Linked DNA regions of Homo sapiens: regions 2 and 3 are each linked to region 1. The links are contacts of gene promoters, found by promoter capture Hi-C in human tissues and cell types (Jung and others, 2019). All regions are on one chromosome and are shown on one strand. Each heading gives the region's core, a stretch centred on a gene start or on the middle of the fragment in contact. The rest is flanking DNA. Distances are from core to core; before and after follow the strand shown. Region 1 holds the start of PTN (pleiotrophin). Region 2 has its middle 130 kb from the start of PTN. Region 3 overlaps LOC349160 (a long non-coding RNA gene).

The links. Contacts are between HindIII fragments. The study calls those that stand out against the background at their distance.
Region 2: a fragment that was not itself captured here is called in contact with the fragment with the promoter of PTN in region 1 in 3 of the 25 tissues and cell types used here (dorsolateral prefrontal cortex, liver and spleen).
Region 3: a contact is called between a fragment that was not itself captured here and the fragment with the promoter of PTN in region 1, in 2 of the 25 tissues and cell types used here (mesenchymal stem cells and mesendoderm cells).

The regions. Positions count from the first base shown.
Region 1 is chr7:137,341,269-137,345,057 of GRCh38, reverse strand. It overlaps PTN (pleiotrophin), which reads left to right and starts at 1,325. Exons shown (of 5, transcript NM_002825.7): 1 at 1,325-1,619. RefSeq lists a cis regulatory region at 773-782 and promoters at 786-1,531, 1-1,531. The HindIII fragment of the contact is 6,839 bases long and covers 1-3,321 here.
Region 2 is chr7:137,212,479-137,216,342 of GRCh38, reverse strand. No RefSeq gene overlaps it. Among named protein-coding and RNA genes, the nearest start is that of PTN, 130 kb to the left of the region's middle. The HindIII fragment of the contact is 6,151 bases long and covers 1-3,864 here.
Region 3 is chr7:137,144,378-137,148,253 of GRCh38, reverse strand. The region is part of intron 1 of LOC349160 (a long non-coding RNA gene); the gene reads left to right. Among named protein-coding and RNA genes, the nearest start is that of PTN, 200 kb to the left of the region's middle. The HindIII fragment of the contact is 6,054 bases long and covers 1-3,876 here.

The DNA.
Region 1 (3,789 bases), core at 76-2,575:
AAGCCTGTGTGTAGGAGAAAGGAACACAGCTTCCTTATTTAGTTATTTCATTTGAGAATTGTATGTGGTATGTATATGAAGAGTTTGGGAAGGGGGATAAATTGTAGGTGTGTAAGTGCATCTCTGATGCCTTTCCTTTTGAAAAGCTTGATTGACTGCTTGATTGAGTTTGTAGAGCCACGTCTGGCTCCAGTCAACTTCTCCAAGGGACATTTCTACAGGTAGCTGTCAATAGAAGAGCCCCAAGTCCCTAAAAACTACTTGCCACAAGACAATGCTTCTAATTTGGGGATTTAAGGATAGTTCTAAGTAAACAAATTGCTTAATAAATATTTGTCAAATTGAAATGAAGGGATGTAACCTCAGAATTATGAAAAATGTGGTCTATTTTACAACCAATTTGGGAAGGACGCCATCAAATGATAAGCTGACCAGTAAAGGTAAAAGTAGGTAAAAGGAGCTAGCCACGGAGCAGGAAAAGCTGATAAGTGGCAGAAAATCTCGAAATTTACATTTCGAAAATGTTTGGGTGAATTTGTATAATACATCTTAATCCTTTTACACAATACTTTTATCTCATCTTTATCATAAATATTTACCTATGCATTGCCTTAGCGTCTTTCCTGTATTGAATGAAATGACAATTCCAGAGACGCAAAGCCCAGCCTCCAAGTTTTACAAACCTCAGAGTTTGAGCTACTTTGACGAATCCTCTAAATTCTTGGGTGTCAAAGGCATGTTACTAAATAGGTTGCTAAAGGCACCAAGGAAACCAAAAAAGGAAAGAGCTCTCCCTAAAGGTAAGTAGCACTTAATTGGGAACTTTGAGACGTCTGTCACTCTTTGTGACAATTGAGAAAAAGTACTTTGTACATTTTGTGCTTTGCAGGTGAGATGTGACTGACACCTTACTGTCTCTGTGTTTAGAGAGGGCTTTCGTGGGTGGAAGAAGAGGCTGGTTTGAAGAGAGTGCTTTTCCATTCTGAATATCATTAAAGGATTGTGGGGGGCCAAAAATGTAACCTAAAATGCCATCAATTGTCCATTTAAAATATCCTATTTGGCAAAGTGGCTTTGCACTCATCTGAAGAATAGATCATGGGTGGAGTTTGGAAAAGAAATGTTGTGTTTCGTCTCTGCTAAAAACAAAACAAGGTACCATCTCATGGCCTCTTGGTTCAAATCCGTTTTCTTGCTCCGCAGGGAGAGACTGCCCCTGGAGTATTCTGCTTTTAATAAGCTTCCCAATCAGCTCTCGAGTGCAAAGCGCTCTCCCTCCCTCGCCCAGCCTTCGTCCTCCTGGCCCGCTCCTCTCATCCCTCCCATTCTCCATTTCCCTTCCGTTCCCTCCCTGTCAGGGCGTAATTGAGTCAAAGGCAGGATCAGGTTCCCCGCCTTCCAGTCCAAAAATCCCGCCAAGAGAGCCCCAGAGCAGAGGAAAATCCAAAGTGGAGAGAGGGGAAGAAAGAGACCAGTGAGTCATCCGTCCAGAAGGCGGGGAGAGCAGCAGCGGCCCAAGCAGGAGCTGCAGCGAGCCGGGTACCTGGACTCAGCGGTAGCAACCTCGCCCCTTGCAACAAAGGCAGACTGAGCGCCAGAGAGGACGTTTCCAACTCAAAGTAAGTGAGAGGAACGTACGATTTCTCGGAGGGCTCTTCGATCGAGTTTGCCTTCACCCTGTGCCACTTTTCTGGGTGCCAGCAGATGATGGTGGTAGGGGTGAGAGAGGCTGCCTGGTGTCTTTGCTGATAGGACTGCTTTCAAAACTGACTTGCTCCAGAGGCCAAGGGAGGCATATTTTTGGGGTTTCAGGTTAGGTTAGTTCGGGTGTGCTTAGGTAAGTGAAAGGAAAGAAGTTTTTGTGATGTTAAGCATGTATTTGGACCGTGTTCCAGCTACCAGCTGGAGAGCAAGACAGGGTGGGCTGGAGAGTGCATCTTTGCTTTTTGTAAAACCTGGAGCTTTAGTAGGTGTGTCTCTGGCTGGGTAGGTGCAAAGAAAGTAAGGCAGCCTGAACAAGCAGCTCTCATTTTCCCAGCCTCTCTCTGATTCTCTGATTGCCCCAGAGCCTGTCAGCCCATGACTCTTAGCTGGCATTTCTAGGTAAGCTGTGGGGGCTTGTTCCTCCCAGTGCTAGCTGACATGAAACGTCTCTCACGGAACTACTGGCACCCGTCTTCCCACCTGACAGCCCAGGAATGGTTCCAGAAATGGTTAGGTCCAAAGTTTAGAAGACACACCTGGAGTCCCATCTCTCATTTGAATGCAAATTTAAAGAACTGCCCAGTACATAGACCCTTAAACTTTTAATTTGACCCACATAAATTTAGGATATATTTGTTACTAATTTACTAGATATTTAGAGTTTCTGAGTTGTTGTTTCTAATAAGTTAAGAAAACATTTTTTGAGAGGAATGTATTCAACTCCTTTCTTAATAGATGGAAAGTGAAACCTCCTCTCTCCTCTCCATACACACACACCCCTTTCTCCATGACATAATGTGACACAACACACACACACACACACACAGGAACACACACATGCAGTTTATATACACTCTAGTGTTAACTCACCCTTGTGTCTGTTAAGAGCTGCTTTGTAAGTTTGGGGACACATTCAGAAAATAGGAGGGGTAGGGGTGCTAAGAGGAGAAAATATTAAAGCTGCGGTCCTTGAGCATCTCTCATTTTAAGAGTTATCAGGCATTTTGCTTTAGCAGCTTGAGAAAGGGGTGATGTGTGTGTGTGCGTGTGCATGTGCGTGTGTGTGTGCTAGAGAGAGGGGTCTGGGAGGAGATTTAGAAATCACCAAAAAGAGCTCTGGACTAATAACATAATGAAACATTTTATGATCCTAGGCAAATGTGGAATTGATGAAACAGCAGGGCCCATTTTAGCCCCTTAATTATCCGGGAATGCATTGATATGTAGAAATATTGAAAGTTAATGACAATGAAACAAAAGAGAAGTCTCCCAACACAGAAAATAAAGCTGTATTTTCCATCTTCATTATGTTTCCTTTTAAGTAAATTATGCACTTTAAAGGCCAAGTCGTTTAAAAAATATAGTCCAGTTAAATTCAGAGGAAATTAGAATGAATATTTTTTTCTTCCTTTGGGACATGAGTTATTTCAGACTGGCAATATTTGTACTTTTTCATTTAAATTAGAAGATGAGATTTTAAAAAATTATATTATTTAAAAAAAACTCTAATGCCATCCTTTTGTGCTTTAAGAAACTTGGGCCTTAAGTTCTCTAATTGTACTTTAAATAAATAGAAGGTGATCTTTTTTCTGCCACTGCTCACTGGTTCCCTTTAGGACATCTTTTTCTGCATTTAGTGAAAAGCCACTATAAGGAACTCCCACCTGAAGCCACATATAACAGCATTAGGTGCTGTGTTCCAGCTGTTTGCTTCTGGATGCAAATGCATTATGTTCTCAAAGCTAGAGCTTGAGATAAATAAAAGTACTATTAGATACATGACTTTTTAATTATCTGACTTTAAATGAGATATTATAGATAATTAGAGTAATAAGGTATACCTAACTATATTTATAGTCTAATGTATTATATGTATTATATATAATTCTCTGTTTTTTTAGACCCCTTTCCATGAGATCATGAGATTTGGTTTAATAAACGTATTAATTTATTGATATTTTCCATATGCCTTATTTGGGCTTCACATATAGCAACACATAACAAGATCTACATTTCTTTTTAATGAGCATTTTCATTTTTTAAAAAAATTTCAGTCAAGCCAATGGCCTGGTTTAAAATTTCATA
Region 2 (3,864 bases), core at 169-2,668, 130 kb after region 1:
CTGCTCAGAGAGTAAAGCCGATTTCGAGAGCTGACAAGTTGTCATAAACTTCCTGGTGTCCTGCTTCCATATACCTCCATTCCCATTAACATAAATCAGGTCACCCAGACTAGAAGACTCAGTCACAGTGTAAGCTTTGTGAACCATCCTTTCCTCAGTTATTTAAAATGATCTGATTTAATGGAAAATTCAGCATCAAGCCAGTCTTACTTCTGTCATGCTCACATTGCGCCCCAGGTATAAGAATTAGGGTCATGTGTTGTACCTGAGAGAGTTTCCAGCTTATTACCCTTTTCTACTCTGTCTTTAATTAACTTTCTTATATTCAGCCCAGTATTCTTTTTTTTTTGAGACGGAGTTTTGCTGTGTGCTGTGTCGCCAGGCTAGAGTGCAGAGGCACGATCTCGGCTCACTGCAACCTCCTACTCCCTGGTTCAAACTCAGCCCAGTATTCTAATCCTTATAAGACTGGACTCTGTTTTTTCTTTTAATTCCCCTCCCCTCAGGTACCATCATCAACTCAGGGGCAGGTTTGTTCTGAATCCCTTACCAGCTCTGGACAGACTTGTGTGATGCAAATTTTATCTCCAGGTTTTAAGGTATATCTCTGCTGTATTTTTGCCTGATCTTAGAATACCTGCTGCCATGTCCTCTGGGTTACATTTTACTTCTTGTTGGACTTCCTTGATATCAGCTTCTGGGCAACCTCTGGCTACTCCTCCTCTATCTTCTAGGTTCTGGGTTCTGTCTGCTCTGCTCGTCTTTCCTCCTACAGTACTGTCTGAAACTCCGTCTCCTCCCTCCTAACCTACCTTTCTTTTCCTTCCTTTTGGCAACTTTCATCCCTTTGTGGAGCTCCCTACTTCCAGATATAAGCTGTTCTGAATCTTCCCTAACTACTTGAATTTGTCTCCTTCATCTTCAGTTGTGTGCTGAGATAGGGAATTTATTTTAATGGAATGAAAATGGACAAAAGAGAGAGTAAAGAAAAACAGAAAAAGGGGATGTAAAAATTATTAATCTTGTCCACATACAACAATAGGAACCATTTACCTAAGAATCCTAGAGATACATAATACGAATTAATAGCTGGAGCTCAATGGAGACTGTCGGAGAACTAATTTGATAGAGAGAGGGGTGGGAGTTGCTAAAACCAAACTGCTAATTGTAACGTATGAGTTCTGAGAAGTTTTTGCTCCATGACCCGCTTTGGCAGTCTGGAGAACCCTACATACCCCTTCACAGAATAGTGTTTTTAAATGCTAGAGATAAATTATATTGGATTATAAATTATTTCAATGACATTGAAATAGAGTTGTCACCATATTAAGAAAACAAATTTTTGATAAGGAAGTATTTTGCTTTATTATTAACACATGAAATGACAGGGTCTAGAATTACTGAAAGTAGTGATACATACAGATGATACTTTTATATATATTTGTGAAAACTCTAACAAGATAATCTGCAACTTCTAGGTATGAAAAAAATAAAAAGTAACGTCGTGGTTTATTATCCACATTTGCAATGGAAGAAAATGTTGAAACTCAGTTTAGTTAGAGATGAGTGAAAATAAGCATGTTTTTCCTCCCTGCTTAAGTCATGTGCCCCAAATTCACTTCGGGTACCCATTAATTAAGAGCCCTGTTCTAATGAAGGCCACAAGCATAGGCAAGACTAGAGAGGTGTAATGCATCTATGTCAATTGCACACTGTAGTGGTCCTATTCACTACGTTTTCAGACAGGGGCCTGCCTTTTTTTCCCAAACACTAGCCTGTCTTCCATGCCAGGCCCCAAATATACCACTTTCTTTTCTCCGTAGTGCCGTTGGTTCCTCTGTCCTCTTTGCACTAGATTAACCATAGTGTTTTGTTCCAATTCTTTTTTTTTTTTTTTTTGAGATGGAGTTTCCCTCTGTCACTCAGGTTGGAGTACAATGGCACAATCTCAGCTCACTGCAACCTCCGCCTCCAGAGTTCAAGCGATTATCCTGCCTCAGCCTCCTGAGTAGCTGGGATTACAGGTGTGTGCCACCATACCTGGCTAAGTTTTGTACTTTTGTAGAGATGGAGTTTTGCCATGTTGGCCAGGCTGGTCTTGAACTCCTGACCTCAAGTCATCCACCTGCCTCGGCCTCCGAAAGTGCTGGGATTACAGACTCTTCCAATTCTTTAGCCAGCTTCCTTTATACTCATTATTCTGTGTTATATATTGATTTAGTTGTCAACAATTTTGTGCTCTAAAAAGGTATGTTAAAATCTCTGTTCAGGATAGATTTCATAACCCAATCCCCATCTGCCAATTCTTACACTTTACCATCTAATTGCTTAATTCTCAATTCTTAATTCTCAGTTGAACGTTTCTCATGTTCAACCTTTTTAATACATAGAAAGTTATGTACAATTATATATTATGCACATTTGCTGATGTGACAAATTCTGGTGGGTGGACATTAATAATAGTAAATAATAATATTTAAAAATACTTTTCCTTTCCTATAAATCAAATTCTATAATAAATTTCAAAAATGTAGAACGCTTTGAAAACAATATTAATAATAACTTTATTGAGTGCCTACTAGGTTCAAAATTCTGTTATAAGTACTTATTTTGGATTATCTCTTTAATTCTAACAACAATTCTGAGATATGAGGGCTAATAAGAGCTTCATTTTATAGTTAAGAAAACTAACATGCAGAGAGGTTATGTAACATGTCCGAAGACACTCACAACAGAAGAACATAGGAATTGTATCAATAATAACATGTTAGTTGCTTTTCCACCCACCGTTATGTGAAATAAAAATTATATAAACTCAAAGCTATATAAATATATACTATAGTAATTAGCCATATTTAAATCAAGACCACTGGACTCCATTCTGCTAGTCACGTATAAATTATTAGGTTGAATAACAGCTATAAAACACAGAATAAGAAAATGAATCTTCCAATGCCCTTAAGTAGGTAATATGTACAAATATCAACCTTGAATTGTATCTGTGCAGTAACTTCCACATTAATATGCCTTAATGCATACATTAATAGCAGCTATGAATTTTGCCATATTATATTTTCTGTTGTACTTTTTGTTTGTACTTTGTTATAAACATGTTTATGTTCTAGTTTACTTTGTTATAAACATGTTTATGTTCTAGTTTTTAAATATAAAGGAATTGTCTTCACTTCAATGATAAGGCAAAAATCATGAATTATTTTACAATAAAATAACAAAGATTATTTGTTTTATTAGGTTAATTCAAGGATTGTAGACTAGGGAAACAAGATAAAGAAAAACCATCTACAAATTATAAATGAGAATTAGATTCTTAGTGGAAGTTCTGCCCTTGTTTCTTTCTCTTTTTTTATTCATTTCTTTTTAATGGATCTATCAAAAAGAAAGTATATTAGGAAAAAGCTAATAACGCCTCAATATTTTCTTGAGGTAATGTTAACATTTTTATGCATATTCTTCCAAAATATTCCCCGTGTACACATATATTCAGTGGCCCTGAAGTATGCAGCCAACTCGGATTGGAGTGGGACATTCTGCGAGATCCAGCCAAGTCATCCCTGTTCACACTGATTCACGTCTTAAATATGAATTTATCTTCTCTGCTACCCTCATTATTCAAGGGCTCATAGAATTCCTGGTTTATTGACAATGCTTATAATATTGCCTCAAAAAACGGACACAATTCTCAGCAAAAAACAACAGGCACTACAATGCGTGAATCACCACAGGATTCAATGGTCCTAAAATATATACCATTGTCTGAAGCTGTTCATCCAATAGAAGCTTGTAATCACTTTTTAGAAGCTTAGTTAAGGTGTACACTTAGGGAATATACCTGTGGAGTTTTAG
Region 3 (3,876 bases), core at 576-3,075, 200 kb after region 1:
GCACCTTGAACTCCAGATGAAAATGCAGTCCTACCAACATGTCGATTTCAACCTTGTGAGGCCTTGAGCAGGGGACTCAGTTATGTGTGCCCTGCCTTCTGACCTACCAAAACTGTAAGATAATAGATGGGTGTTGTTATAAGCCAGTGAGTTTGGGCTAACTTTTTACACAGCAAGAGAAAACTAATGCAACCACTCTTCAGAAGTGGTCATTACAGACAAGGATATGTTGGTGTAAACTCAGGTTTCCTCAGGAAACAATATGTAGGGGCCCTTCAGAGAGAATCCACGGGAAGCCAATTCAGTGGAGTGGAACACAGCTTGTTAAGGATGCCCTGAGGAATTTGAACACAGATGCATTCTCTAGTTTGGCAAGGTGAGTCTCCCCTGAAGTGGAGCTTCTCATGCACGCAAAACTGGGAGAGGAACCATTTTCTTCCCACAATTTCTTGTGGGCTGCTCCTTTTGTAAAATACAATAAACATAAATGAATACAAAATATAAAACTTTTTTAAAAGGACATTCAAAATATAAACTCCAATTTTTTGTCATTCAACAGATACAGATTTACTCTGTGAAGTTGCCATGCCACATTCCAAATGCTTACTCTCCATGTTGGCACTTATCTCCTTTGAGACCAGTTACGAACAGCAGACCAACCCAATATGTGAATCGCATTCTAAGGAGCACTGCTTGGAGAGGCACCAAATTCCACCAATGCCCTCTCTGCTTCTATGCGTGGAATGTACATCTAGCATTCAGCAAAGATAACTTGCTATGTTCAGAGAGGACCATGCCTAATTATAGGTATTTTCTATTTTGGAGCTAGCTGGTCATTTTTTAGTTCAGTGTAGATACTCCCCACACTTGCAATCAAAAATATAAATGGTAGCTCCAACTCCACTTTTTAATAGCCATGTGATCCTATAAAGTTATTTATGCTTCCCAAACCTCCTTTTTTTCTTCTTTGTAAAATGGCAATAATATCAGTAACATATCTCTTATGGTTGTGAAGATTAATGAGGTAGCAGGTATGCATGTGTTTTGTAAGCTGTTAAGCACTTTATACATGCATGAATTAATAGTATTTCTATTCTTAGAGTTTCCCTCAATAACTCATTCCAGCATGCTCTGCACAGAGGTTGGGAAATGAGAAAAATCTGGCCATGCGCTCTAAACAACTTGATTTTACTAACAATTTCTGGGAATCACTGAGAACCGTGTGTGTGTAAATGGCAGATACTGAAAAGATCTCTTTGTTACATTAATAACAGGCTCCTCCGAAACTCTTGTTTATGTGTAGAATGTTTCTAATTAATAACATAAGCAGGAGTAATGGTCATTGAATTCCATCCTCTAATCATGGCCTCCATTCTGCAGCTATTCTCACGGGTATGTGAGGCAGGCAGTATTTGTATTCAAAGAACATCTGCAATACTCTGTCTAGTACCATCAGCAGGCATTGTGGCATCTTAACATTACAACTTCTAGAAATGGAACAGGGAGAGGAAGACAGCCACATCAGGCTTACAACAGGAATCCCAGCTCTGCCCGTCAGTAACAGGAATTTGCGTGGTCAGATTGCTCCGACAATGCATTCGTTTTAGACATAAATACAAAAACCATTTTAGATTATTACTCATAAGGTTAAAATTCTTCTCTGTGGTTACCTTCAACTTTTTACCTTTAAAAGAATCACTTTAAAGTAGATTTATTACATGATAGTCTGGTTTCACTTAGAGAATTAAAAGGCAGAGACAATATTATAACGTCTTAGCTGGTTTTTTTTTTTTTTTGCCACTGGATAGAAATTGAATTATGTCTTCAAATATATTTTCCAGTTTACTATCCCATTGCCTATTTCTTTTAATCTTTATGAGTGAACCTACAAAAACAAAATCCCTCAGAGAGGAGGCAAATCCCTGTGGCTAACACTCCATGAGTCACTTTGAATATTTGTTATGACCTCAGTATCATACTATATCCATGCCTTCTGTATTATCTAAACCTTGTCTTACAGAGTCATTAAGAAAATTGAGTATGTTTTGAGTGTGGGGGAGGCCTAGAAATAATATAATTTGTTTAATGAGAGAGAACATTCCTTAGACACAGTGGCTGCAATTTGTGAGACCTACAATTCATTAAACAGTCCAAGTGGGCACATTCTTGTGCAAAGACCAACGGAATGTTTCTTATTGGTCAGGACAGCTGAATTTCTGCTGCTGATAGTGACATCTTCCAGAATATATCTGCAAGGAAATGTCCTTCTAAATTACAACCTAGTAGCCAGTAAGTTCTGTAGTAAGACTAAATATAAACAGAATTCAGGAAAATGGTGAAATAGGAAAAAAATATTAATGATAAGAAAAAAGTGAGAGATGAAATTTTAAGGGTAAATTTCTGTGTATATTGTGTAGTGAGTGGGAAGAACGAAGAACCCAGAGATTCTCTAGATTCTCTCAGCTTCTCTGAACTCTATGTAGCTTTCTCAAATCAGAACTTCTCTTCCTGACCTAACTCAAATTATTTTATTTTGCTTAGAATTTCATTTCATTCAAGTGATAACTCTATTAAGAACAAATGGGACAATGATGACTAGAGATACAGTTCAACAAGCCCAGTTGGACAAGAGCTCTTAACTCTGTTGCCTAAAATACATTCATTGGAATCCTGGAATACTCTTTAAACACTATTGCTGTATTAATAATGATATTATAATCCAAGACATACTTCTAGCAAGCACTTTCTGTAAGTCTTAGAAAAGTCTTCTAAACAATACGTCTTGTCAATATGTGATTGCTGCTACTGTGAAATAAAGACTGGGCAGAGTGAGAAGCCAAGGATATGCAAAATTATAGCCACATTCTTATGTAGGCTACAACTCTAGTCTGCTATCCATGGAGCTGAATCACGGGATGAGAAAGGAGAAACCAGTAACAGGGCTTTTCAAGGTGATACCAAGAACACATCAAAATGGTAAGAAAAGCCAAAGCATAGATAGAAACAAGAATTTCAAGTAAGAAAGCTCTCTGGGGCTGGGCGTGATGGCTCACGGCTCTAATCCCAGCACTTTGGGAGGCCAAGGAGAGTGGATCACTTGAGGTCAGAAGTTCAAGACCATCTTGGCCAACATGGTGAAACCCTGTCTCTACTAAAAAAAAAAAAAAAAAAAAAAAAAATTAGCTGGCCATGGCGGCACATGCCTATAATCCCAGCTACTCAGGAGGCTACAAGAATCACTTGAACTGGGAAGGCAGAGGCTGCAGTGAGCTGAAATCGTGCCACTGTCCTCCAGCGTGGGTGACAGAGTGAGACTCTGTCTAAAAAAAAAAAAGGAAAGAAAGAAAAAAAAGAGAAAGAGAGAAAGATATCTGGTTTAGACGTAAATACCTTGAGAATTCAGCTAAAAATGTTATTTTAATTAAACTGTTCATTCTGATTCTCCTCCCTTCATTGCATCAATCTGTTTTCTGGTCCAAAGTATTGCAGGGCCAGAAGAGCAAGGCCTATGTGAGCACGGGCATATCAGAGGATCATTTGATTAAAGTTAGTGATTGTAGACAGAAACTTGGGGGTAATTATCTGCAAATAGATGCTTTGATCCAGACATACTTTTTCAAGTTTAAACCTTGTGAATGCTTCCTATTTCATTTTTGTTTTGATTCTGAAGATCCCAGTAATTCGCTGATGTATTAGTCCCAAATTCCTCTACCTTTGTTGACATTGCTCTCAAGTCTCTGACTCTTGGTTTGCAGTTATCTGCAACCCTTAATTGTCAGTTTTGTTCTGACCCTGGTTTTCTATCACCTGCTCTAATTTTCTTGTTTTTATTTTTTTGGTAGGCTGGGACTACATTCTTGACTCTTTTCATCTATG